Regions from separate parts of the Homo sapiens genome. Here region 1 is linked to region 2. Evidence: promoter capture Hi-C in 16 types of primary human blood cells and fetal thymus (Javierre and others, 2016). All regions are on one chromosome and are shown on one strand. Each heading gives the region's core, a stretch centred on a gene start or on the middle of the fragment in contact. The rest is flanking DNA. Distances are from core to core; before and after follow the strand shown. Region 1 holds the start of C14orf93 (chromosome 14 open reading frame 93). Region 2 holds the start of PSME2 (proteasome activator subunit 2).

Region 1 (3,597 bases), core at 456-2,955, 1.1 Mb before region 2:
GAGTAGGATGCTAGCTGTGTAATAGAAATGCATTATTATACAGAAGTTTTGTTGTAATGAAATTTAAATTCTACAGTAGATTTTTTTTTTTGTCTCCTGGTTGTCACTGCATTTGTGACATTCCAGTTTCTCCCTCAGCACCTCATATACCTCCTATGCTTTCACTCCAATCTGCGAATACAAATTTGGATACAGATATTTTCCATACAACTTCTAATGAGGAGATAGTGATTCTGTAACAGAATGAAGTGAAAATAGGGCTCCTATAACAGGAGGTTCTGCTCTGCGAGCCTGTTTTTCTCTAATTCATATACTTTTTTCTGTGACTCTTAGAAATGAGAAGCTTTCCATTCTAAAAATGCAACATGATAACCAAAAGGCATTTCTTATCCCTTCTATTATTTGCCTTTGCATCCTCTTGGCTCCCCATCACCATCACCATGAACAGTTTTTGAGAATTACACTTGACTGGATTTTTTTCCTGATACTTTGCCAGCTGTGGAGCTTTTCGAATATTCCAACCAATAAACGACCATTTTGTCAAAAAGCCAAGAAAGAACTTCCCTTCTGAACACACCAACCAAACCACACATAAAGGCCAAAATATACACAGCTGTACACTTAAGAACGTGAGACAATAAAAAGCAAAACCACTTAGGCAAAACAGTCACTGAAGGCTTTGAACCACAGATTCAATAAATTGCCTACTCTCATTTGCCACATGGACTATATACTCCTTGGCAATTATTTAATTATTCATTATTCTGATCCTTTAGGAGCAGAAAAATATAGTAAATGCACATAGAAAGTGCCTAAGTATGCTAAGCATAGGATTTCTTCTAAGCTCTGCTTTGCACACAAAATATTTTGATCACATTTGGGAAGACAACGGAAAAAAATTCACATCCTAGGGGATACTTTGCACACATAAAACCAGATATATTTATCACTTTTGAAAATAAAATCTGATATGGCACATATACACACATATTGTACATATACACAAATAACCCCAAGTTATAACTTTACAAATTTGTTTCAAGAAACACACACACACACACACAAATGTTCTAATGAAAATGTGTGTGAAAGACACACTGTAATTAAGGTCTTTCCCCCTTCCCTAGGGAAATGAATGTCTCCATTATAATATCCCAATATTAACTTATTGGCCTTGGACAAGTGCCACATCCCAGCCACTTGGTTTTGGTTCTGGGGGGGTGGGTGTGTAAAAAGCACGCAAACGGCTTTATGAGGGAGCCTCAAATCTCTCTGCTTCCTTCGATGTTGCCTGTGGCAGAAATTTACATTATCCCTTCAGCCCGCTTAAAAAATTCTGTACTTCCCAAGCGGCTAAATTTTTAAAGTCCCTCAACCACAAAAATCTACCAGTTCTTAAAATGTGATTTAAAAAAAAGAAAAAAAAACTATAAATTTGGCCGGAAACGGTTGTACACGGCCATCCTGCTTCTCAACTTCTTGGTATATTTAAAACCTTGACCAGGAAAAAGAAAGAGGAAGAGAGACAGAAAAAGAAATGGGGGAAAGAGCAAATTCCCCTTAGCAACAGTTTCCTCACCCCAACACTGCTACAGATCTCTATTTTTAAAAAATTTGAAAACACACACAAGATTAAGGAGGAAAAAAAATGGAAAAAGGATACCCGAAGGTCGTATGGCTCTTTGTATTCGTGTGTGTGCAAAAAGGAGGACTCGCGGAGCCCGAGCCGGCAAGCCCCGCCCCTCCCCGGACGCCCTCCCGGATTGGCCGTCCGCGGCCGCGGGGCGCCCCGCCCGCAAGCACACGCGCCGCGCCCGAGGCGCCAACCCCGGAGTTGGGGGCGGGGGGGGCCCTGAGGGCCGCCGGACCCCCGACCCCCAACCTCGCCTGGACCTTGGCAGACCCCTTTCCCACCTCTCTCCCTTTCACTTTCTCACCGTCCTGTCACCCTTTCCCATCTTTTTTTCTCAGTGAAACAAGGCCCAGTCACCAGCATAACAATCCAGTGAGCGACCTCCGGACACTTTGTTAAATTGAGTGAACTAGTCAGTAACATTCTAGACTGCAATTAAACATCAGGGACTTGGTGCGTGGGCCCTACTCCGGTTTCCAGGTGAAATGTCTCTGGGTCACGTGTGTTGCTTAACACCCCCACGTTTAAATGAACATTCACGTATGGAACATCTTTCTGAAGTCTTACACTTCAGCCCGAGCTCCCAGTTTATCTACCTGGCTCAGACCACATTCTCAAAACTAAAGTGGCTCCTCTTTATTTCCAGGAAGACAGCTGGTATACCTGGATTTTAAGCCACCCATAATCTGGTCCCACCCACCTATTTGTTATTTATTTATTTATTTAGACAGAGTCTCGCTCTGTCACCCAGGCTGGAGTGCAGTGGTATGATCTTCGCTCACTGTAAACTCCGCCCCTCCGCCCCCACCCCCACCCCCACCCCCACCCCGCCCAAGCGATTCTCCTGCCTCAGCCTCCCAAGAAGCTGGGACTACAGGCGTGCGCCACTGCACCCAGCTAATTTTTTTTGTTTTTGGTAGAGACAGGGTTTCGCCATGTTGGCCAGGCTGGTCCTGAACTCCTGACTTGAGGTGATGTGCCCACCCTGCCTTTTTTTTTTTTTTTTCAGTGATGTGATCTCGGCTCACTGCAACCCCCACCTCCGAGGCTCAAGCGATTCTCCTGCCTCAGCCTCCCGAGTAGCTGGGATTACGGATATATGCCACCACGCCCGGCTATTTTTTTTTTTTAAGTAGTGACGGGGTTTCACCATGTTGGCCAGGCTGGTTTTGAGCTCTTGACCTCAAGTTATCCTCCCGCCTTGGCCTCCCAAAGTGCTGGGATTACAGGCGTGAGCCACCGCGCCTGGGCACATATTTGTTCTTAGTTCCCTCTACGCTCGTCTTATCAATCTTGTATTATTCCTTTACTCAAGTGGCTTTTTTTTTTTTTTTTGGCCTGAATTATGCGTCTCCCCTTCCCTGACTGGTCAATTTTTATCCATTCTCTTTCAGCACAGACTGCTTACTTCCTTCTCTCCGCTCCCATCAACATGAATTTCATGTGTACTCCAGTTAGCGGCACGTAACTCTACCTTGATTCACATATTTTAGTAATTTCACTCCAGTAAACTGTTTGAGGTCAGTGATCATATCTTAAAATTGTTTTTCCATCCAGGAACTGTTTGATTCTTACTGCAGTAGCTGGCATAATTGTAGATATTTAGTAAACACTGACCAAAAAAATCATTTATTTATTTATATTTATTTTTGAGCTGGAGTCTCGCTCTGTCGCCCAGGCTGGAGTGCAGTGGCCCGATCTCGGCTCACTGCAAGCTCCACCTCCCAGGTTCACGCCATTCTCCTGCCCCAGCCTCCCGAGTAGCTGGGACTACAGGCGCCCGCCACCAAGTCTGGCTAATTTTTTGTATTTTTAGTAGAGACGGGGTTTCACCGTGTTAGTCAGGATGGTCTGGATCTCTTGACCTCGTGATCCACCAGCCTCAGCCTCCCAAAGTGCTGGGATTACAGGCGTGAGCCACCATGCCGGGCCAAAAATCATTTATGATCAAATAAGTGAATTTC
Region 2 (3,180 bases), core at 679-3,178:
TCTAAGTGACTTACTTAAGGCTACCAGCTAGGTAACTGATAGAATCACGATTTGAACCTAAGCAGTCTCTCTCTAGGGTCCAATCTTTTAAAACAATTCACTCACTATATCATACCACCTCTACTATGAACCCAATACAGCAGTAGGTTCTGAGGTTACAGAGTGGATACTGCACAGTCTCTAATTTTGGGGGTACCGTTGTGATAAGAGAGGTCTAACAGAACGAGGAGAACAAAGGGGATCTAAGCCCAAGGCACAGAAGGAAGTTTTCTTTTTCAGGACTAGGTCTCTGTATGAAGGACTTGTATCTACGGAGGAGTCCAGGGCCTCACCTTGTGTGTCTTCTCTTTCTGCTTCCCCCATTTCCCAGGCTTACCAGAATGCATTTCTCTTTGAGAGTCCAGACTTCTGGCTTAACCAGGGCAAGCAGGGACAGGACTTTCTCATTCCCAGGGAGAAATCCACACTTATGGACTGTGAGAAAGAGGGGATTCAGGCCCTTTCTCATCCAGTAGTCAGTGTGCCATCACCCCTTCCCTAGTCACCTCTTATCTCTCTTACCTTCTTTCTTCTCCTGCTTATCTGTTTCCATCTAAGGCAAAAAGGGGGGAAAGTAGCTTTAGAAAAGTCACAGAGGTTGAAGGGCTATCTTCTCCATTGGGTTTATAGTCCAAGTCCTGCACCCTGAGTGCCTCACCTCATCATCCTTGGGTGGAGGGTCTGGGATGGGGATGTCCAGTGGGGCCCGGAGGGAAGTCAAGTCAGCCACATTGAGGGAGTCCTCCTGCACAGAGCTCACTGTCAAGGGCTGCCCAACCTCTTCCCTTCATCCTAGGTCACAGCCTTCCCTCCATACATCCCACTTGCACTCTGCCTCCCAACCTAGGCTCATGCCTCACGCCATCCTAATGTTCCTAATCCACTATTTGAAACTATTCTCTGCATGCTGAATCCAGTTGTTAGCTAGAGAGGGTGGGCAAAGGGGATAGAGGACATAGGATGGGGCAGAAGGGGCCCACACTACTCACTTGCAAGAGCTGATTCAGGTATATGATTTTCTGTGGCAAGAATCTGTAGAGGAATTCCTCAGCCTGTGGGTTACATTGCAAGGGAGGGGAATCACAGAATATGCTCAATGAGATGTCTGACAAATGGAACTGGAAGGGCCTTTGGAAATCACTGGGTCCAAGACTTGCAAATGAGGAAACTGAAGACCTGAAAATGAAAGGACTTGCCCAAGCTGGTAAATGGCAGAACGAAGGTTAGGACTGTGATATTCCTGCTTTGGAAGCCATGGTTTTTTTCCTCCACATCAAAAGACGGGAGAAGTGCCAGAAGTCGGGAGAGTCATAAGAAAGGTCAGATTAAAGGTAGCTATCAATAATTCCGGGGTTACTTTGGGTGAAGGCTTGGTAAGGGAAGTAGGGTTAAGTCTAGGGTGACTTGGGGGGGTCATTCTGAGAGGCTGTTATCCTCAAGTATTGGTCCAAGATTCTGGGTCAAATCGCTCAAATCCAGAGACTTACCTCCTGGAAAAGATTCTGTCTGAAGACCTCCACCTACACAGAGAGCAGTACCCGGATGTTGGTTAAGGGTCTGGGTTGTCAAAAGCTTCCACCCACAACAGGGTGCCCTCGAACTGTGGCTCAGGCCTTTCTCACCACAAACTAGCTTTCCCTGGAAGCTCCTGCTCACTGCAGTCAGAAGGCAGGAATCTGGGAATCCCCGAGAAGTGAAGGCACTAGCGAGATTGGGGGAGTTCTCTGGCACTGCTTGGTCCCCTGAACCACCCAGCTTGGCCTCCACCCAAGAGGGTTCTATGACCCCTTCCTGGCCTCCGATTCCCCATTACCTGTTTGCGGGCTTCCCCGCTCAGGCGCACCCCACACGGCTTGGCCATGCTGCTTCAGTCGCTAGATCTCTGGTCTCCCGGCTAGTCGCCCGGGCTTTCGCTTTCACTCCCCAGGTCCAGGCCCGCCCCCCTCAACCCCGCCCCCTTTCTTCTTTCCGCCCCCCTCCTCCCGCTGGCAGGCCGCAAGCAGTAGGTAGCCCCTCAGCCATTCCCAGCCAGTTGCCACTAGGAGAGGCGGTGCTGGCTGGGTCACAGTCCAGGGGCTGCCCGAGGGAGGGGCTAGGGTAAGTGGGACCGCGGAGACTGGAGCGGGGGCTGTCCCTCGGAGAGGGGCGGGGCTTATAGCTAGGGCCAACTGGAAGTCCAGGGTTGGGGTAAGAGAGGTGGGAGTATGGCAAAGGGGGTATTCAGTGGCGGGGCTCCCCCAAGAAGGCTCGACCGCAAGTAGCGGACGGAGAGAGATCAGAGCGAGTGGGAGGGGCAGCCAGAGGGAGCGCCTGGGGTGGAGAAGGACTAGCAGCTCTTAGAAGAGAGCGGGCAGGGGTTGGGTGAGGGTCTTCCCTCTGCCTTCAGGACAGACCGGAGATGGGGCGGGACTCGCTCGAGAGGGGTTAGGGCCGGCCAGAGTCGGTTCCCCTGCAGGGTGGGACTTCCTCGGTGAGGCCCGGAGCGTACCGGACTGGTCCAGCTAGAAAAAGAAAGGTTTTGAGCTGAATAGGATAACCCCGCGCCTGCGGCTATCCGGAAGGGGTGGAACCAGATTGGGGGAAGGCGGGGAAGAGCGCTTGACTGAGGGAAGATGCTGGCGCGCTCTGAGGGAGGAGCCAGGAGCCATTTGCCTTCTCATTGGTTGGGACCTGGCCCTCCCTCTTGGCCGCGCCCCCTGGTTTCCTGACACCGCTCCAACCTTAACCTTAAGCCCCGCCCGTTCCTCCGAAATTGGGTCGCAGTCCCACCCTCTCTCCTAGTACTTCCTGTTCTCGGCTAACCCTGGCGCTGGGCCGGGGGCTGGAGAGTGACCGTGGTCTGAGTGACCTGGGGCGGCTGCGTGGGCCGGGGTGGGCCTCAAAGCCGGGCACCAGACGGGAGGGGCGGCGCTCGGGCCGCGCGCTGCCCGCGCCGGGTCCTGGCGGGCGGCGAGGCTGGGGCTGACTCCTGCCTCAGGATGCCGGGGGAGGAAGAGGAGCGGGCCTTCCTGGTGGCCCGCGAGGAGCTGGCGAGCGCCCTGAGGAGGGATTCCGGGCAGGCGTTTTCCCTGGAGCAGCTCCGGCCGCTACTAGCCAGCTCTCTGCCGCTAGCCGCCCGCTACCTGCAGCTGGACGCCGCAC

The links. The method cuts DNA at HindIII sites, captures the fragments that hold promoters and counts their contacts. A CHiCAGO score of 5 or more calls a contact.
Region 1: the fragment with the promoter of C14orf93 here is called in contact with the fragment with the promoter of PSME2 in region 2 in 1 of 17 cell types (non-activated CD4 T cells); the score reaches 5.0 in non-activated CD4 T cells.

The regions. Positions count from the first base shown.
Region 1 is chr14:23,008,438-23,012,034 of GRCh38, forward strand. It overlaps C14orf93 (chromosome 14 open reading frame 93), which reads right to left and starts at 1,706. Exons shown (of 7, transcript NM_021944.4): 1 at 1,664-1,706. It overlaps LOC124903286 (a long non-coding RNA gene), which reads left to right. Exons shown (of 2, transcript XR_007064075.1): 2 at 1-547. RefSeq lists an enhancer at 1-67 and a silencer at 1,695-2,044. The HindIII fragment of the contact is 8,647 bases long and covers 342-3,597 here.
Region 2 is chr14:24,144,682-24,147,861 of GRCh38, forward strand. It overlaps PSME2 (proteasome activator subunit 2), which reads right to left and starts at 1,929. Exons shown (of 11, transcript NM_002818.3): 1 at 1,853-1,929; 2 at 1,527-1,559; 3 at 1,029-1,091; 4 at 698-784; 5 at 562-592; 6 at 377-474. The coding sequence starts at 1,900. It overlaps RNF31 (ring finger protein 31), which reads left to right and starts at 2,817. Exons shown (of 21, transcript NM_017999.5): 1 at 2,817-3,180. The coding sequence starts at 3,018. RefSeq lists silencers at 1,975-2,034, 2,735-2,824, 2,855-3,084 and enhancers at 2,345-2,414, 2,552-3,052, 2,599-2,893. The HindIII fragment of the contact is 5,988 bases long and covers 1,610-3,180 here.